Linked DNA regions of Homo sapiens: region 2 is linked to region 1. Evidence: promoter capture Hi-C in human tissues and cell types (Jung and others, 2019). All regions are on one chromosome and are shown on one strand. Each heading gives the region's core, a stretch centred on a gene start or on the middle of the fragment in contact. The rest is flanking DNA. Distances are from core to core; before and after follow the strand shown. Region 1 holds the start of KLLN (killin, p53 regulated DNA replication inhibitor). Region 2 overlaps MINPP1 (multiple inositol-polyphosphate phosphatase 1).

Region 1 (3,753 bases), core at 2-2,501:
AGGGACACACGTGACCTCCTTCGGAAAGTAGTTCCGACTGTGGCCCGTGTATCCTTCCACCTCCTTTTGAACCCTCCTAGGTCTCCTCGCCCCGCCCACTCGCTGGGCTGCAGCTTCCTACCGTTCCGTACTTTCCACTCAACCCGGTAACCCCAAACGTGCACGGTCCGGCCGGGGCGCGCGGAGCCTGGCCCCGGGCGATCCATCCTGCCGGGTTTTCACGGCGGCCAAGGGGGGGCGGGGCTAGGTGGTCTCTGAGAACCGAGCTTGACTCCGACGCCGCGAACCGACCTGGAGCCCGAGGGGAAAGATGCTCGACTCTCTTGGGGGCACCGGAGCGGGCGCAGGAGAGGCCTGCGGGGTGCGTCCCACTCACAGGGATCCTCTTTCAGTTCATTTAGATAGGTGCCCTTTGGGCCCTTGAAATTCAACGGCTATGTGTTCACGTTCAGCACGCTCGGCTGAGAGCTTTCATTTTTAGGGCAAACGAGCCGAGTTACCGGGGAAGCGAGAGGTGGGGCGCTGCAAGGGAGCCGGATGAGGTGATACACGCTGGCGACACAATAGCAGGTTGCTCTTTGTGCTAAGACTGACACCATGAGGACACAGATTTGGGGGAAGGGGGAATCTCTAGGCAAAGGCTGTTACAGTCAAATCTCTGCGAACGATTGTGATCCGACAGCGGTGCAAAAGGAAAGAGCGAATGCAGTCCACGCCGCGGAAATCTAGGGGTAGAGGCAAGGGGGGAGGGTATTCCCCTTGCAGGGACCGTCCCTGCATTTCCCTCTACACTGAGCAGCGTGGTCACCTGGTCCTTTTCACCTGTGCACAGGTAACCTCAGACTCGAGTCAGTGACACTGCTCAACGCACCCATCTCAGCTTTCATCATCAGTCCTCCACCCCCGCCCCACAACAGCCTACCCTGCCTCCGGCTGGGTTTCTGGGCAGAGGCCGAGGCTTAGCTCGTTATCCTCGCCTCGCGTTGCTGCAAAAGCCGCAGCAAGTGCAGCTGCAGGCTGGCGGCTGGGAACCGGCCCGAGCAAGCCCCAGGCAGCTACACTGGGCATGCTCAGTAGAGCCTGCGGCTTGGGGACTCTGCGCTCGCACCCAGAGCTACCGCTCTGCCCCCTCCTACCGCCCCCTGCCCTGCCCTGCCCTCCCCTCGCCCGGCGCGGTCCCGTCCGCCTCTCGCTCGCCTCCCGCCTCCCCTCGGTCTTCCGAGGCGCCCGGGCTCCCGGCGCGGCGGCGGAGGGGGCGGGCAGGCCGGCGGGCGGTGATGTGGCGGGACTCTTTATGCGCTGCGGCAGGATACGCGCTCGGCGCTGGGACGCGACTGCGCTCAGTTCTCTCCTCTCGGAAGCTGCAGCCATGATGGAAGTTTGAGAGTTGAGCCGCTGTGAGGCGAGGCCGGGCTCAGGCGAGGGAGATGAGAGACGGCGGCGGCCGCGGCCCGGAGCCCCTCTCAGCGCCTGTGAGCAGCCGCGGGGGCAGCGCCCTCGGGGAGCCGGCCGGCCTGCGGCGGCGGCAGCGGCGGCGTTTCTCGCCTCCTCTTCGTCTTTTCTAACCGTGCAGCCTCTTCCTCGGCTTCTCCTGAAAGGGAAGGTGGAAGCCGTGGGCTCGGGCGGGAGCCGGCTGAGGCGCGGCGGCGGCGGCGGCACCTCCCGCTCCTGGAGCGGGGGGGAGAAGCGGCGGCGGCGGCGGCCGCGGCGGCTGCAGCTCCAGGGAGGGGGTCTGAGTCGCCTGTCACCATTTCCAGGGCTGGGAACGCCGGAGAGTTGGTCTCTCCCCTTCTACTGCCTCCAACACGGCGGCGGCGGCGGCTGGCACATCCAGGGACCCGGGCCGGTTTTAAACCTCCCGTGCGCCGCCGCCGCACCCCCCGTGGCCCGGGCTCCGGAGGCCGCCGGCGGAGGCAGCCGTTCGGAGGATTATTCGTCTTCTCCCCATTCCGCTGCCGCCGCTGCCAGGCCTCTGGCTGCTGAGGAGAAGCAGGCCCAGTCGCTGCAACCATCCAGCAGCCGCCGCAGCAGCCATTACCCGGCTGCGGTCCAGAGCCAAGCGGCGGCAGAGCGAGGGGCATCAGCTACCGCCAAGTCCAGAGCCATTTCCATCCTGCAGAAGAAGCCCCGCCACCAGCAGCTTCTGCCATCTCTCTCCTCCTTTTTCTTCAGCCACAGGCTCCCAGACATGACAGCCATCATCAAAGAGATCGTTAGCAGAAACAAAAGGAGATATCAAGAGGATGGATTCGACTTAGACTTGACCTGTATCCATTTCTGCGGCTGCTCCTCTTTACCTTTCTGTCACTCTCTTAGAACGTGGGAGTAGACGGATGCGAAAATGTCCGTAGTTTGGGTGACTATAACATTTAACCCTGGTCAGGTTGCTAGGTCATATATTTTGTGTTTCCTTTCTGTGTATTCAACCTAGGGTGTGTTTGGCTAGACGGAACTCTTGCCTGGTTGCAAGTGTCAAGCCACCGATTGCTTTCTTAGGCTATCTATATGGTCTCTTCCTGAGGGCTATTGTCCGTTAATACAGAATACAGTACACTGTTAGTGGATTAGCGAGCTCGGTAATCCGGTCTCCTAAATGAACAAAAAAGTAGACGCTTTTTGAGGTTGAGCATATTTCGATTAAATCTTGGCTTAGGCCCTAGATCAAGGGTTTAGATCAGAATAAAATGAAAATTAGTGTTGCACGTACGCATATTGCATCAGAATCTTGCAGTGATTGTTTTAGTTTCCTGAGTTGCATTGATAGATTCTTTTAAAATATGACTGATTTGCATAACTTTAGAAGCAGAATCATTTTCAGTATATATGGTGCACATTGAGGGCAAAAAGTAGTTTTGTTAATGTTTAAACTTAAGTTACCTACAACTTTGAACTGTATGTAGAAGTTTTGTAGTTTGAAGTCAATAGTGCCATAATATACCTTATAAGGCGTTCTTACTAGATCTTTGTTATATTTACCTTTTTCTCTCCCTATGGGGTGATGTAGGATAGTGCTTGAAATTTGCACTTCAGTAGCATTTAATGTTCAGTGCTCTTGTCATAAACATAGAATGGATATTGAGTAGTTTCTGATCCCAGATGGTAATGTGTAGGTTCAAGGGTATTGTGTGTAGCAAGTGAAGATTGCAGAAATAAAACTTCAGTTCATGCTTGAAATTTAAGTATTGTTGTGATGCCAGAATTGCTGCTCACCGTTTTTAGGTTTCAGGTCCTCTGACACCTTTTGGTATCGTTAATTTTACTGATTTGTGTAGAATGTCAGTTGTATTTTACCAGCTAATATCTAGAAATGCTGGCAAGAGGGGTTTACTCCAGCTTTAGATTGTAGGTATGTTAGCTTTTTTCATACAGTGTATTAAATTTACTGAGTCAGCTTGCTGAATAAGACAGAAGCCCAAGAATTTTAACAGTGTGTAGCTTTAGTTGTCTAAAAGTTAGGCCTTCGGGCTTCAAAAGTTAGTGGTCATCGAAAAGCATTAATCTTTGCAGTTTCAGGTACAACACATTGGTTTTGATTAGGGATGGGGATGGGGCCCTCTTTTTGCAGAATGGGGAAAGTATTGACAGGAATTGAGAGCTATTGGTAGGCCAGTGTATAAGGTATGTGAAAACAGAATTAAGTTATTGGTCTGAAGTGACTGAAGCATTTAGGCTCTATCAAGGCCTAAAATTTGGTAATATGAGTTTGGTAATGCGAATTGTGGCAGTGGACAATATTTAGTTAAAATTATGTAA
Region 2 (4,060 bases), core at 762-3,261, 320 kb before region 1:
CCATCCTCCCACCTCACCCTCCCAGGTAGCTAGGACCTCAGGAGTGCACCACCATGCCTGGCTAATTTTTGTATTTTTAGTAGAGACCGGATTCCGCCATGTTGGCCAGGTTGGTCTTAACCTCCTGAGCTCAAGTGATCTGCCCACCTCAGCCTCCCAAAGTGCTAGGATTACAGGTGTGACCCACTCTGCCAAGCCAGTCTTTAAATCTTAAAGCTTCAAAACAGTTTCCTTCTTGCCATGTGAAACCTGCTTCCCCCTTGCCTTCCGTCATGATTGTAAGCCTCCTGAGGCCCTCCCCAGAAGCAGATGCTAGAGCCACGCTTCCTGTACAGCCTGCAGAACCGTAAGCCAAAATACACTTGTTTTCTTTATAAATTACCCAGTCTCAGGTATTTCTTTATAGCATTGCAGAAACGGACTAACACAAAATTGGTACCAAGGCATGGGGCACTGCTATAAAGATACCTGAAGATGTGGAAGTAGCTTTGGAACTGGGTAAAAGGCAAAGGCTGGAAGAGTTTGGAGGGCAAAGAAGACAGGAAGATGAAGAAAAATTTGGAACTTCTGAGAGACTGGTTAAATGGTTGTGAACAAAATGCTGATAGCGATATGAACAGTGAAGTCTAGGCTGATGAGGTTCCAGATGGAAGTGAGGATGTTATTGGGAACTAGAGCAAATGTTACCCCTGTCACATCCTAGCAAAGAACCTGGCTGTACTGTGTGCCCTAGGGATACCCTCATCAGTTTTTCCTCATTCAAGATGTGGCCTGGCTGCTTCTAACAGCCTATGATCTAATATGGGAGCAAAGAAATGACTTAAAGTTAGAACTTATATACAAAAGGGAAGCAGAGTGTAAAAGTTTGGAAAATTTTCAGTCAAGCCATGTGGTAGAGAAAGAAAAAGTATTTTCAGGAGAAGAATCCTAGCAGGCTGTGGAGCAACCACCTGAAAAAGAGGTTATCATGGCCAGGGCACAGTAGCTCATGCCTGTTAATTCCAGAACTTTGGGAGGTCAAGGAAGGAGGATCACTTGGGCCCAGGAGTTCAAGACCACTCTGGGCAAGAAAGTGAGACCTCATCTCTACAAAAAATAAAATAATTAGCTGGGTGTGGTGGTGCATGCCTGTAGTCCCAGCTACTCAGGGGCAGAGGCGGGAGGACTGTTTGAGTCTGAGGGGTCAAGGTTGCAGTGAGCTATGATCACTAAAATGAGTTTGGTCATTTCTAAGACACTGGATTATAAGACATATTAAAAGAAGATGTTTTAAGTTAGTATTATGTCCAGGTAAGGTTTCTTAAAAATAAATTTTTTAAAAAGAAAACAAAGTTAGTTTTATGAGAGAAGGGGGAGGCCCCAGACTCTTAAACAACCAGATTTCATGTGAACTGAGAAGTCACTCATCACCAAGGGGATGGCACTAAGCCATTCAAGAGGGATCCATCCCCATGATTCAGTACCTCCCACTAGGTCCCGCCTTCAACATTGGGGATCACTTTTCAGCATGAGATTTGGAGGAGACAAACATCCAAACTATATCAACTTCTGTGACCCAGTGTTGGGGGATGGGGGTTCCCCACCAATAAGCAGCAGACACCAGCTAGGTATCCTCTAATTTTGACACTATCTGCCTGGATGTAGCATCAGATCTTACAAGTTGAGGACTCAATCCCCAAGATTGCCCCCTGCCCTTTTCAGACACCAGTCATAAGTCTGGGCCTCTGGAACACCTGACTGACTGGCTTCAAGTTGGGGTTTTCACAGCCCCCTCTTTGGGTTCACTTAATTTCCAGGAGTGGCTCACAGAGCTCAGGAAAACATGTTTACCAGTTTAGTATAAAATATTACAGAGGATACAAATGACACATAAAATGAGGTATGGGGGAAAGGATGTGGAGCTTCCATGCCCTCCCAGGGCCACACCGCCCTCCAGGAACCTCCACATTTTCAGCTGTCCATAAGCTCTCCAAACCCTGTCCTCTTGGGTTCTTATGGAGGCCTCATTACTTAGACATGATTAATTAAACTATTGGCCATTGGTGATCAACTTGACCTTCAGCCCCTCTTGCTCTTCCCTGAGGTTGAGGGATGGGCTTGAAAATGCTAACCCTGTAATCATGCCTTTGCCTTTTTGCTGACCAGCTCCATCCTGAAGCTATCAATCAACATGAGCATGCAAAAAGACAGCACTTTGGAGATTTCAAGGATTTTAGGAGTTTTGTACCAGGAAACAGGAACAAAGACCAAATATATATTATATTTCACAATATCATTGGAACCTTAAGAAAGAAGCCTCTCTCCTTTCTTACGGAGCCTAGAGGAATAAAGATAATAATAAAGATTACTTTATTTATGAATAGTAATACTTTACAAAGTAATCTTTATTATCTTTATTCTAGTTTGCCCTTGAACCATTAAAGGTTACTAAGTTGAATTCAGGCTGAGAAAAACAAAATAGCAAAGAAAAACATTTATGTTTGAGATTTTAGTGATTTATATTCTGAGATGTTATGTAATGGAAATACTTTTGAGATAAAGCAAAAAATACTTAACATTCTTTTAGTTGTTGCAACTTATTTAAGAGTGTGTGTAATTCTTACCCTTGAAACCTCAACCTAGACATTTAGTGAATTCTGTTTTTGAAATGGGAAAATCAAGAATAAAGTCAGATTTTAAAAATTGTATAAAACATGTAGTTGCTAAAATGTAATTTTAAGTCCTCCTTAGGGTTTCAGTTTTATGAACCCTATGTCCTCCTTAAGGTTTCAGGAAACCTCCTTAGGGTTTCATGTTGATAGCATATTATATGAATTATTATGGCAGTTTTTTCTATTTTATAAGTTGTTTTTCTCTGAGATAAAATTTCTCTAAGTGGGATTTTTAATATTCAAGCTTTCTTGACTTTTTTTTTAAAAAAGACATAAACCAAACCAAGTATATTCTTACCTGTATCTAGTAAAGATTTGTGTACATACATTTAGGAGTGATTTATACATATGTCTTGAAGTGATAATTTGTTTTAGGTGATTATATGTTTTATACATGTTTGTGTTATACTTCACCAGTAGTGATATTGTCAAGCAAAAAAAAATATGCAGCATCATAAAATTAACTTTGTTTTCTTTTTAAAAAATTTATTCTTAAGAAACCTTACCTGGACATAATACTAACTTAAAATATCTTCTTTTAATATGTCTTATAATCCAGTGTCTTAGAAATGACCAAACTCATTTTAGTTATATCTAGGAAATCAAAGGTAAAGATGGAGAGATTGGCAAGGAGAGGAGGTTCATGAATTGAGAGTAGAATGTGTAAGAAGCATGAAATAGATCACATCGAGTCTGGATACAACCTCAGAATCCTTCTCAATGCAGTGTTCCAAATAGCTATTAATTACTGATTGGAGATTTGGCCCAGATACTGGTTTTATGACTAAAAGTTGTCATTTATTGACATATTCTCTTTCTTCTAAGCAAGAGTAAAAATTTAGATGCATACACCCTTGTCTTTGTTCATCTGCTTAGAGGCTTACATCATTAGTGATCATGTCGTGGGGCAAAATTGGGATTCAGCCCCGGAGGCCACATGGTTCTTGGCTTCACGGAGGCAAGAATTCAAGAGTGAGCCAAAAGACTAGAGCGAAAGCAAGTTTATTAAAAAGTAAAGGAATAAAAGGGAGGCTGCCACATAGGCAGAGTAGCCTTGAGGGCTGCTGGTTGGCTATTTTTTATGGTTATTAATAAATAATAGCATAAATTAATCGTATGCTAAACAAGGAGTGGATTATTCATGAGTTTTCTGGGAAAGGGTAGGGAATTGTCAGGACCAAGAGTTCCTTCCCTTTTTAGACCTTATAGGGTAACTTCCAGGAGTTGCCGTGGCATCTGTAAACTGTCACGGCACAGATGGGAGTGTCTTTTAGCATGCTAGTGTATTCTAGTTAGCACATAATGAGCAGTGAGGATCATTGAGGATGAGCAGAGGTCACTGTCTTTGCCCTCTTGATTCTGGCTGGTTGTGGCTGGCTTCTTTACCACATCCTGTTTTATCAGCAGGG

Evidence for each region. The method cuts DNA at HindIII sites, captures the fragments that hold promoters and counts their contacts. A contact is called where the count stands out against the background at its distance.
Region 2: a contact is called between a fragment that was not itself captured here and the fragment with the promoter of KLLN in region 1, in 1 of the 25 tissues and cell types used here (IMR-90 fibroblasts).

The regions. Positions count from the first base shown.
Region 1 is chr10:87,862,282-87,866,034 of GRCh38, forward strand. It overlaps KLLN (killin, p53 regulated DNA replication inhibitor), which reads right to left and starts at 1,252. Exons shown (of 1, transcript NM_001126049.2): 1 at 1-1,252. The coding sequence starts at 206. It overlaps MLDHR (mitochondrial lactate dehydrogenase regulator), which reads left to right and starts at 1,278. Exons shown (of 1, transcript NM_001433720.1): 1 at 1,278-1,373. The coding sequence starts at 1,278. The coding sequence ends at 1,373. It overlaps PTEN (phosphatase and tensin homolog), which reads left to right and starts at 1,344. Exons shown (of 9, transcript NM_000314.8): 1 at 1,344-2,267. The coding sequence starts at 2,189. RefSeq lists enhancers at 1-68, 319-498 and silencers at 1,099-1,408, 1,499-1,638. The HindIII fragment of the contact is 9,209 bases long and covers 1-3,753 here.
Region 2 is chr10:87,542,402-87,546,461 of GRCh38, forward strand. The region is part of intron 4 of MINPP1 (multiple inositol-polyphosphate phosphatase 1); the gene reads left to right. Among named protein-coding and RNA genes, the nearest start is that of MINPP1, 40 kb to the left of the region's middle. The HindIII fragment of the contact is 4,515 bases long and covers 1-4,060 here.